4 separate regions of the Homo sapiens genome follow, and all the other regions are linked to region 1. The links are contacts of gene promoters, found by promoter capture Hi-C in human tissues and cell types (Jung and others, 2019). All regions are on one chromosome and are shown on one strand. Each heading gives the region's core, a stretch centred on a gene start or on the middle of the fragment in contact. The rest is flanking DNA. Distances are from core to core; before and after follow the strand shown.

The links. The method cuts DNA at HindIII sites, captures the fragments that hold promoters and counts their contacts. A contact is called where the count stands out against the background at its distance.
Region 2: a fragment that was not itself captured here is called in contact with the fragment with the promoter of BEND4 in region 1 in 2 of the 25 tissues and cell types used here (IMR-90 fibroblasts and lymphoblastoid cells).
Region 3: a fragment that was not itself captured here is called in contact with the fragment with the promoter of BEND4 in region 1 in 1 of the 25 tissues and cell types used here (H1 embryonic stem cells).
Region 4: a contact is called between a fragment that was not itself captured here and the fragment with the promoter of BEND4 in region 1, in 1 of the 25 tissues and cell types used here (mesendoderm cells).

Annotation. Positions count from the first base shown.
Region 1 is chr4:42,151,228-42,154,042 of GRCh38, reverse strand. BEND4 (BEN domain containing 4) reads left to right here and starts at 1,388. Exons shown (of 6, transcript NM_207406.4): 1 at 1,388-1,511; 2 at 1,667-2,386. The coding sequence starts at 1,900. RefSeq lists silencers at 1,696-2,015, 2,216-2,305 and an enhancer at 2,071-2,815. The HindIII fragment of the contact is 6,033 bases long and covers 1-2,815 here.
Region 2 is chr4:42,544,428-42,547,242 of GRCh38, reverse strand. All of the region lies in intron 19 of ATP8A1 (ATPase phospholipid transporting 8A1), which reads left to right. Among named protein-coding and RNA genes, the nearest start is that of ATP8A1, 110 kb to the left of the region's middle. The HindIII fragment of the contact is 3,737 bases long and covers 1-2,815 here.
Region 3 is chr4:42,509,645-42,512,459 of GRCh38, reverse strand. The region is part of intron 22 of ATP8A1 (ATPase phospholipid transporting 8A1); the gene reads left to right. Among named protein-coding and RNA genes, the nearest start is that of SHISA3, 110 kb to the right of the region's middle. The HindIII fragment of the contact is 3,385 bases long and covers 1-2,815 here.
Region 4 is chr4:42,493,713-42,496,527 of GRCh38, reverse strand. All of the region lies in intron 24 of ATP8A1 (ATPase phospholipid transporting 8A1), which reads left to right. Among named protein-coding and RNA genes, the nearest start is that of SHISA3, 98 kb to the right of the region's middle. The HindIII fragment of the contact is 4,724 bases long and covers 1-2,815 here.

The DNA.
Region 1 (2,815 bases), core at 139-2,638:
CTTTTCCTAGTGATCCACGTGTCCTCATTTAGCAGTTTTCAGAAGCCAGGGAGAAACATTGCAAATAATGTTAAATATGATTAATATCTTGAATTCCTTGAAATATGACATGCATGAGTTACAATGAAACCTCTTTTATTTCCCCATGAAATGCTTTTGCATAATGAGAAAGAAAATGTCCTCTATGCCCTAATCAGCCCTGACAGTTCCTGGACTCCCAAATACTTATATTTATGGCATTATTTATTTCATCTCTAATAAATGGATTGGGGGGGGGACACAGCACCATCTGAGGAAGCTGCAGGAGAGAGGGAGACAATCTAGGGGGGAATAATACAGAAGCTGAACCAGCAAGGCAGAGAGAAAAAGCTTCCAAAGGGAAGGAGACCAGGGAAAGAGAGGCCAAAAGATGTGAACCCCCAGAAGAAAATGGGTCACCTTCCTAAGAATAAAAGGAAGGCTCTGAAAAGGAAACAAACTTCAGAGTGCAGAGATGAGGGTCCTACATCAAGGAGCATCCAGAACTCTGACCTGGAGAACGAAAAAGGAAGGCTGAAAAGCAAACCTGGGGCAGGGTATGCTGGTTGGCCTAGAAGAGGGGTGATTTGGGATAGGGAGCAATGGACCCTCTGCCCCAAAAAGTGGCTGGGAGAGACCAGGACATCTGCATCCCATGGAGGATCTTCCTCCCAACGACTGAGATCTCTCATTCAAACGGCTACTGAAATTGGGCACCCTCCAGACCCTCGCCGGATGGCGCCAGTTGCAGTGAGTAAAACAATGCAAGGAGTGAGTTCTCGTGTTTCCCTGGGCTTGCAAGTACATATACATATATTAAAAATGACACTGTTGAAAGTAATCATCACCTCAAAGGGAGGTATCAGGACATTTCCCCACTCAATTGCACAGAGGCTACTGGCTATGGGAAGTGAGGAGTTGACTTCAAATAACCTGGATGCGTCAGTGCAACACAGCCGCACACTCCCGAGTGTCTGACTTTGGGCAATTCCCTTCAACCTCTCAGAGCCTCGGTTTTCTCATCTTTATAATGGGGGGGAAATCATGGTGTCATGCACGTTCTCGGGGCCCCTACGGGAAACAAATGAAAACGTGAAAAAGTTCTACGCCTTGCGAGCTTTTATGTTCCGCATGAGCTCAGAGGCCGCGATGCTCGGGGAAAGCAGGACCCCAAAGCCCCGTAAACACCGCGCGACCACCCGGGCCAAGATCTTCAAGAGGTTCTTTTCAGAAGGATCGGAGAGCAATTCCCGATTGGTAGAAGAACTTGCTGTAATACACACGTACTCTGACGACCCCGCCCCAACGACTAGCCCCTCCTCTGTGCAACCCCGAGAGTTTGGGGTCATGCAGGGGGCGCCACGAGCTCGTTTCGGAAGCCGGACCCCGCCCGCAGCCGCAGAAGCCTCGAGTCCACATCTGGGTCTCTAAAGTCTCGCCGTAGCCAGATCCCGGATCCCCACCTTCTTCACCAGTTCCCGGGCGTCCTCCAGGTCCTCGCTTTCCCCCTTCCCCCGCTCCCCGTCGGAGGCGCGGAGCCGCCAGGCAGACCCCGCGGGCGGCTGCGGCGCCAGGCCCCGCCCCGCCCCCATTATCATTAGCAGATATTACCCTAAACACTTGCTCTTTACCTCCTTTCTCCCTCCAGGCATTGGCGAGGCAGCCTGTCAATCAGGAGCTCGGGCGGCAGCCCCCCGCGCGGGGGCTCGGCGATGCCAGCCTCAGCGACAGGCGGCGGCGGCGGCGGCCACGGCACAGACACACACCCTCCCACACGCGCGCACCAGGGCAGACCCGGCGGGCAGGCGGCGGAGGCACCCTCGGAGCCCGGCGCCCGGCGGGGAGGGGACGTGCTCCGAGGGACCGGCCCCGAGGCGCCGGATGGAGGAAGAGATGCAGCCGGCAGAGGAGGGGCCCAGCGTCCCCAAAATCTACAAGCAGCGCAGCCCCTACAGCGTCCTCAAGACGTTCCCCAGCAAGAGACCGGCGCTGGCCAAGCGCTACGAGCGACCCACCCTGGTGGAGCTGCCGCACGTGCGGGCGCCCCCGCCGCCCCCGCCGCCCTTCGCGCCGCACGCCGCCGTCTCCATCAGCAGCAGCGAGCCGCCGCCGCAGCAGTTCCAGGCGCAGAGCTCCTACCCCCCCGGGCCCGGCCGGGCCGCCGCCGCCGCTTCGTCGTCGTCGCCGTCCTGCACGCCCGCCACATCCCAGGGCCACTTGAGGACTCCGGCGCAGCCGCCGCCCGCGTCCCCCGCCGCCTCCTCGTCGTCTTCGTTCGCCGCTGTCGTCAGGTATGGCCCAGGCGCGGCGGCGGCCGCCGGCACCGGCGGCACGGGTAGCGACAGCGCCAGCCTGGAGCTCAGCGCAGGTACCAACTCTCCGCACAACTTTCCTTCCCGCCACGGCCGGGGGCAGCGGGAGGGGACCCAGGAAGGAGAAGCGGGGGGCCGCCGACACTTACCCGTGCTGGGCCGTGTCGGGATGTCGGGGCGCACCTGGGGCCTCCCCGCGCACCCGGAAACTTCGAGAGGATTCTCCAGCGCCGCCGCGCCTGGGCTTCCGACGGCGCGCGCCTAACAGGTGGCTCCGCGGCTTGGATCCCGCGCCGGGAAGCACGGCTGTGGCAGTCGGCGACCAGGATCGCTCGGGCGTGGTCCGGAGTGGGGCCAGACGCCCCCCCGGGGGATAGCGGCGGCCGCTCGGGAAGAAGCTGGAGCTTCTCGGGCCGCCCCGCTGGGACGCCCTCGTACTACTTCACTTTTTCCGTCTGCTTTTTCCCTTTCTCCTTCTTCCTCCA
Region 2 (2,815 bases), core at 193-2,692, 390 kb before region 1:
GTCTCTGGCATGAACAACTGGGTAGATAGAGGTACCATTTACACAGATGGCAGAAGTGGGAATAGGAATAGATGTGGAGGTTGAAATGTTTGAAGTCTTAGGTTTTAGATGACTGTGAGACATACAAGCAGAGCTATCAGGCAAGCAGTTGAATATAAGGGCCTGAAACAAAAGAGAAATCTATGGCTGAAATAGCAATTTGGCAGTCAGTGGTTGGTAAGTGGTATTTGAAGTCATAAAACTGAATGGGATCTCCTGAAGAGAAGATATAAAATGAGGGGGAAATGGAAGGCTGAAGATTAAGCCATGAGGGTAAGGGTTGATTAGAAAAAGAGGAATCAGCAAAAGAGACAACCTTGTTGTTAAAGATGTAGAGGACAGAGAGAGGGTCATAGCACAGAGCCAGGAGAAGAGGATTCAAAGAGAGAGTGGTCATCTGTGTCGGAGACTGCTGCAAGGTTAGGTAAGAAGTTTGAGAAGTATTTGTTGAATGTAGCTATTCATTGTAATGGTGAGGAGAGAAGAAAAAGGAAAAGACTGGGAATGAAGGGGATAGATGAGTGATGGTTTAGAGAAGGTGAAATGTGAAAGAGTTGAAAAGGGATGTGGCTTAATGGAGGAGTGGTTGCATCGGGTGAGTTTTTTTGTTTTTTTTTTTTTTATTATACTTTAAGTTTTAGGGTACAGGTGCACAACGTGCAGGTTTGTTACATATGTATACATGAGCCATGTTGGTGTGCTGCACCCATTAACTCGTCATTTAGCTTTGGGTATATCTCCTAATGCTATCCCTCCCCCCTCCCCCCACCCCACAACAGTCCCCGGTGTGTGATGTTCCTCTTCCTGTGTCCATGTGTTCTCATTGTTCAATTCCCACCTGTAAGTGAGAACATGTGATGTTTGGTTTTTTGTCCTTGCAATAGTTTGCTGAGAATGATGGTTTCCAGCTTCATCCATGTCCCTACAAAGGACATGAACTCATCATTTTTTATGGCTGCGGGGCGAGAACAGAGTATGTTAAATGCTTATCACCAGGATCCTTACAGAAGGAGAAGAGGCAGATTCTGGGGAGAACAGCATAACCTTTGGACCGAGGTTACTGAGAAAGTGAGATGAGAGGAGGTTCACAGGCATGTGTAAGGAAGGCCTCTGATAAGAGGAAAATGTTTCTTCCATCATATCAGGAAAAAAGATGGAGGAGATGGTGCACACATAGATATGCAGGTTTTAATGGCAGAAAGAAAAGGGATTTCTTCCCACCCCCAAACCGAGACAGAGTGTCTCTCTGTTACCCAGCCTGCAGTACAGTGGCTCGATCTCAGCTCACTGCAACCTCCGCCTCCCAGGTTCAAGCTATTCTCATGCCTCAGCCTCCTAAGTAGCTGGGATTGCAGGTGCACATCACCATGCCTGGCTAATCTTTGAATTTTTAGTAGAGATAGGGTTTCACCATGTTGGCCAGGCTGGTCTCGAACTCCTGACCTCAAATGATCCCCCTGCCTCAGCCTCCCAAAGTGCTGGGATTACAGGCGTAAGCCACCATACCCGGGCAAAAAGGGATTTCTTATCTGAGGTTTTTATCAAGGTGAATTTTTGTCAAGCTTCTGGGGTGAGGAGGGAACGCGGGAGACTTGGAGAATGGAGAAGGTGTGCTGTAGCCCTGCACAGTGCAAGAGAGCAAGCTTGTTGGAATGTGCTGGGTTACTGGGCAGTAAGGAGCACCCAGTTGGTGTTGTATATCATGTATTTGCTAGTCTCTATGGCCGGGTAACTTTTCTTCAGCAACATCTACCTACTTTGATGTAACACAAAAGAGAGTTCTCATTCACCCAATATTTGGAGGTTTCACCAGGAAAAGAGAAGAGCAAGGACATTGATGAGTTTGGGACCACATTATCAAAGCTGGAGTAAAAGAGGCATGAATCAGGAAGGGCTAACGTAGAATGTATAGGTGTCATTACAAAGGAGGCCCAATTAAATGTATTCCTGATGTACAGGGATAGAGACTGGGGTAGTAATACCAGGAGCATTATGGATAAAGAAAGAGGGAACTTAAATATTCCTTTTTTTTTTTTTTTTTTTTGAGACGGAGTCTCGCCCTGTCACCCAGGCTGGAGTGCAGTGGTGCAATCTCGGTTCACTGCAACCTCCACCTCCCGGGTTCGAGCGATTCTTCTGCCTCAGCCTCCTGAGTAGCTGGGATTACAGGCACGTGATACCATGCCTGGCTAATTTTTGTATTTTTAGTAGAGACAGGGTTTCACCATGTTGGTCAGGCTGATCTCGAACTCCTGACCTTGTGATCCGCCCGCCTCGGCCTCCCAAAGTGCTAGAATTACAGGCATGAGCCACCGTGCCAGGCCGGGAACTGAAATATTTCTAAATACCTCTGAAAGAAACTCCTGACTGTACACTATGATACCATAACTGACTGCTTCTGCATATTGAACTCATCTCAGTTTTTTAGCTGGTAAAACAAATAGATACAGACATTTGAGTAGTCCTCTTCTGCCCTCAGTTCTGAGGAGGATGCTTACACACTCATGGTCCAAATGAGTCCTATCCTTTGTAATGCTGTCGCAGTTTCTTCCATTCAGTGTTATTTGCTATCTCTTTTTACTAATGCATTGAAAGATGTACATTTGACAGACAGTTCTTATTAAACTATGTCATCAACAGTATTAAAATATTTGTGCTCTTTAGCTTAATTTTGCTGCATAAATTAAGTTTTTAGCATGATGCCAGTGGTTTGCTAGTCATCATTGAAAAACTAGTTGTGAATGCTTAAGTTGTTTTTTAAAGTACTAGTATTTGC
Region 3 (2,815 bases), core at 110-2,609, 360 kb before region 1:
AATGAATGCAGGCATGCATGTGTGCTTGTAAAGGAGCTAATCCTGAAATGTGACCCTGAGGCCTGCAGGTAGGAATAGGGAAATAGGTACACCTGACGGGTGACTCAGGCCTGAGGCTGAAACCCTCTCATAGAAATGAAGTATTATTGAAGACCAAGAACAGACACAAAAGTTTAAAAACCTGATGATTTGAACAAAATTCTAATTTTCATCTAATCTCAGTTTTACATCCCATTTGCTTCCTTGGGTATGTATTAGTTCTTGGTGTTTTGTCCTTACGGTCATAGCTTAGCTGCACCTCTAGTTGACCTTAGACAATTTACTCAACCTCCCCAAAGCTATTAACTGAATTACTAAATGTAAAGCACTTAGCAGTGCCTGGTACAATTTTTCTATCCGTGAAATGCTGGTTTCCTCTTCAACATCTTCCTAGTCATAATCTTATTTCATATGGAAATAAATCCTACTAGTATTTATCCACATTTACTCCAGTGGTACAATTTGGTTTAATAATATTACTTTGTCTTTAAGGAAATTTCTGCCAAATAGCCCATGTTGTAATCTGAAGCCTAGGTTGATACGAGTTTGATTATTATATCTTTCTCATTTAGAAGCATATCACAAACTTTAAAAAAAAATGACATCATCTAAGCACTGACATAATGTTTGCTAATATGGAAATAGGTCACTTTGAGGTTCCATTATTTAGCAAAATATACATGTATTGGGGAAAAATCATAATTTCTAAAGCTATCATAATACATTTTACCAAACTACATGAAGCTTTCTGTCCTCACTTACAGTAGAAATGTTACATTTATGTGCCTTTTTAAAAATTCTGCATACATTAGGAACATCTGAAAGAGAAAACATTACTGGAGGCTTTACTAGGTGAATAAACATTATTTTATGATTTTTTCAGTGATAACTAAATCTATATTATGTCAAAGAGTCATCAACCTCAAGCCTTTATAACATTTAGCTTGGTGACATTTAGAAAGTAAAATTAGTGTTTGGAGTTTTTTTTTGAATTCCATAAATGCCATGGGAATTTTATCGCATTTCAACACTTGCTGAATATGTAATTCCCCTAGTGCCCATTAGTGGCCATCTGTGTAAGGTAATACATATTTGGGATGAAATTGATTATAGCCTAAACACTCTTGTGTTATGATCAGGAAAAGCACGCAAAGTTCAAATCTTTTTTTCTAGTGATCATTATATAGCTAACAATATTAATTTCCAAAAGCAGAACAGCCCATCACTCAAGATTCTGATCTCACCATAAATGATACCAGGGCAAAAGGAAAGGAGTCTGCAGAACCTTCTGCTAAAATTAACCAGTGCTGTTCTCAAGGAGCTCCTGGGATAAAGGGAAAATTAACACGCTTATGGAGTACAGTGTTTCCTTCATAGGCATCAAAGTAGACCCATTACAATTTTGCTGAATATTCCGAAATGTTTTATTATTCTTCTTAAGGATTTGTGTTAAAGCCACCACAACACTCCATGTTAACCTACTTGTGTGACTTTTCTCAGCATACCTTGCTGGCCCTACATCTTTGATCCTTTATGTTATTTGTGCCTGCTTTGAAAATGTTTCTCTTTTACCTGTGCAAAACTAGATGCTTTCCTTCTTTCAAATATGATTTCAATGTGATCTCTCCAGTGAAGTCATTTTATTTTTATAGGTATGTGAGTGGTAATGTATTTTATATTGGTGGACTTTCTGAGCTCATTTTTCCCCTTAGAGTAGAGACAGAAAATATACAAAATATTTGTTTATATGTTTCTAATGAATGTGTTCGTATCTTGGCTCCCACATTATCTAGTTACCCCAGTGTTTTGGGAAACATATTGCAAAAAAATATTTTTGCAGGAAATTTTGAGGGCTTGTATTAATAAGCTGTCCCCATGATCACTAAAAAAAAAAACCTTATGCCTTGGGTAAAATGCTTAAAATTTGAACACAGCTATATCCTGATCTTCACTGGGATGTGAGCCAGAATGATTTAACTGCAAATGCCCTAAAAGTAGCTGAAGATTTGGAAGAATCATTGTGTAAACATTTAAATTCAACAGTTGTGGTGCTGGCATCACTGATGCTGAATTGTTCTTCCTTTCCTTGCTTGAACTTCTTGATGATAATTGTTCATCAGGTTATGGTAGATTTCAAATCTGCTTCCCATTAAAGGAAATAAAATAATGCTATCTTCTTGAAAGAAATTTACCTTCCTGTATTATATATTATACACTAAGAAGTCATGCATCAAGTGTGTCTAATAACCATCCATATTATTTGGAATATATTGAAAAGAAAATGGTCTAGATTGCAGCAGTATTTTTGTAATTTCTGGATTTTGGTCTTGTCATTAGCTCACTTAGCAAACATACTAAATGCTGACATTCAATGCTGTGGAGTCATTAAGATGAGCAAGACGTGGTCCCTAATTTTGAGCAAACCTACCATACTCATGCATTTACACTTCTCTTAATGTACATGAAGATGAGCAAAATTCTGTAGGAGAACAGCAGAGGGGAAATTTTATTTTAAGAAATAAAGGAAAGCTTAAAAGAAACAATAACTTTTTTTTTTTTTTTTTTTTTTTTGAGACTGTCTCGCTCTGTTGCCCAGGCTGGAGTGCAGTGGCTTGATCTCGGCTTACCGCAAGCTCCGCTTCCTGGGTTCATGCCATTCTCCTGCCTCAGCCTCCCGAGTAGCTGGGACTACAGGTGCCTGCCACCATGCCCGGCTAATTTTTTGTATTTTTAGTAGAGACGAGGTTTCACCGTGTTAGCCAGGATGGTCTCGATC
Region 4 (2,815 bases), core at 210-2,709, 340 kb before region 1:
TGAGAAAGCCAGTTGTGTATTCTGAGCAGCCTCTTCCTGGCTGAATTGAAGGTAATGAGAGAGACTGGATGTCTGCCTACCCAGTTCCTCCCCGCGTGCTTTGCTTCTGCATTCACTGCTGCCACTGGAGAATATTTAATACCAAAGTCAAAATAAGTGTTTAGGAGGCTTTCAGTGGTGGTTTAAAATAATTACCATGGGGGCTTTGGTAAAAGCCTTTATCCAGAAAACTCTTTAAATTATATAATTATATCCCTTATCCCACTCTTCCTTCCTTTCCCTGGATTTGTCTGTCTTTGCTACATGTCCCCACCCCCGTGCTGAAACACAGACTGGACACAGATTCAGCACTTTGCTGCCTCTCTCTGCATTGTACCCTAAGTGAGACTAGATGCCTCGCAAGCACTTATTTGCCTGATGGAACCTATCATAATCCCAAATCTCAAACCTCTGTTGAGGGGCCAAGAGCAATTTACCCAGCACTACAACTTCCTCTTCCTACCTGCCTCCATTTTGTGACCCTTGACCTTTGTCAGATGGCATGACCCTTCTGGGAGATTGGACCACTTCCTCAATTACAGTATTCCATATCTACCCCCGTCCTGGGAAACCTATATTTGTGTATTAGCAAAGCATGGAATTTTTTTTCTCTTTTCCTCTCCCCATTATCTTTAGCAATATATATTGATTAAATGCGTTCGTTGGGCCGCCTTCCTCTAAGCTGTTTGGAGGACCTCTTTGACCATGTGTTTTTAATGACTTCACCTTCTGTCTGCCTTACCCGTTTTGGAAAAATTACTTTATATTGGTTTGATTCTATACACATATGTTTTTCAACATTATGTTCTAGTACAGGCTACGAGTTTGGAAACACCAAAGCTTTTTGATCAAAAACTACATCAAAAAAAAAAAACCAATAAATACAATTTTTTAAAATAAGTTTTGATTTTATAATGTGTCAGGGGGTTGCAGGGGAACCACGTCAAAGAGAGCTAGTGATCCTGACTGGGATGAATACTAAATGGGCCAGTTGTACATAAATGTAGTTTCTCCCTACTCTCAGGCATACGTTCTTTTACTACCACCTGCAGTAGCTGGAGGAGTATTGATATATGTGTTGCGTAGGAGTATATGGAATGCCCAGTGTTCCACTGAATCAATAACACATTGTAGAAAAGCAAGTAATACCCAATGGTTTATCCATATGTTATTATGGGAGCCATAACTCACTCTTTAAGAACGTGCTAACATTGTCCATACTTGATATGGTCATAATGTATTATTAAGAATGTTTCTAGAATGTTCCGTTAATTCATAATTTTAAAGTGTGAACATTTGGAGAGTGTAAGAGTAGAGACAGAATGAAACATGATTTGACCATAAATTTGTAAATACCTCACGTCTTAAATGATGATGAGGTGGAGCCTCAAACCACCAAAACAGCTAATAAAATATGTGTTAGTTTAAGATTCTTATATATATCCTCTTATTTGACATTTTAAATTAATTTATAGTAGATTTTAAAAGGTAGAGCCTTAGCAAACTAAAGTAAGGTGCTGGTGGTGTTTTTGTTTTTTACTCCCAGTAAACATTTATTTCTCTGCTTTAAAAACAAAACCTAAGAATGAACTCAGTGGTGTTGTGTCTGAAGAACATGTCAGCAAAACAAACCCTGGGTGTCGTCTTTATAATTAATTATTTTAAACCAAATACATACATTGATGTGGTCACCTATGCAGAACTATACAGATAATAAAAGAGAAATGCCACATCAGTTTATAACTTTCCAATTATTTTCAGTTAAGAATTCTATCAGGTTGGAGACAGAAATTAAGAGAGAAAATCAGTGGTTAGTTATATAAATATTTGTCCTCCTACCATGTACCAAGAGCTATATGTCACATGAGACTAGATAATGCCATCTTTCCTAGATTGAGAAGACAGGTTTCCAGAAGTAGCTGATAGTATTGAATGTTGGCAGTCAAAAGGTAAATTGAAATAAAATTGCCATTGGGAGATTTCATAAGAAAACTTAAAATTATCCCAGTCACATGAGATGGAGTCTCACTCTGTCGCCCAGTCTGGAGTGCAGTGGCGTGATCTCGGCTCACTGCAACCTTCACCTCCCAGGTTCAAGCGATTCTCGTGCCTTAGCTTCCCAAGTAGCTGGGATTACAGGCACCTGTCATGTCATATCCAGTTAATTTTTGTATTTTTAGTACAGACAGAGTTTCACCATATTGGCCAGGCTGGTGTCGAACTCCTGACCTCAGGTGATCCACCCGCCTCGGCCTCCCAAAGTGCTGGGATTACAGACATGAGCCACCAAGCCTGACCTCTTTTTTTTTTTTTTTTTTTTTTTTTTGTGGCATGATCTTGGCTCACTGCAACCTCTGCCTCCTGGGTTCAAGAAATTCTCCTGCCTCAGCCTCCTGAGTAGCTGGGATTACAGACATGTGCCACCACACCCGGCTAATTTTTTTGTTTTAGTAGAGAAGGGGTTTCACCATGTTGGCCAGGCTGGTCTCAAACTCCTGACCTCAAGTGATCTGCCTTCCTCGGCCTCCCAAAGTATTGGGATTACAGGTGGGAGCCACCGGACCTGGCGCGTTTCGTGTTAGTACCTTTGTTAGACCTGATACCAGAGGAAGGGCAGAACTAACCTTTCCTGGATGTCACTTCATGCCAGGCACTGGACAGGGCACTTTATTCACAAATAAAGGAGTTAGCACATCTTATCACTATAATCTCTCTACAAAATAGATAGTAACCCAATCTTATGAATGAGAAAAATGTGATTCAGAGAAGTTAAGTC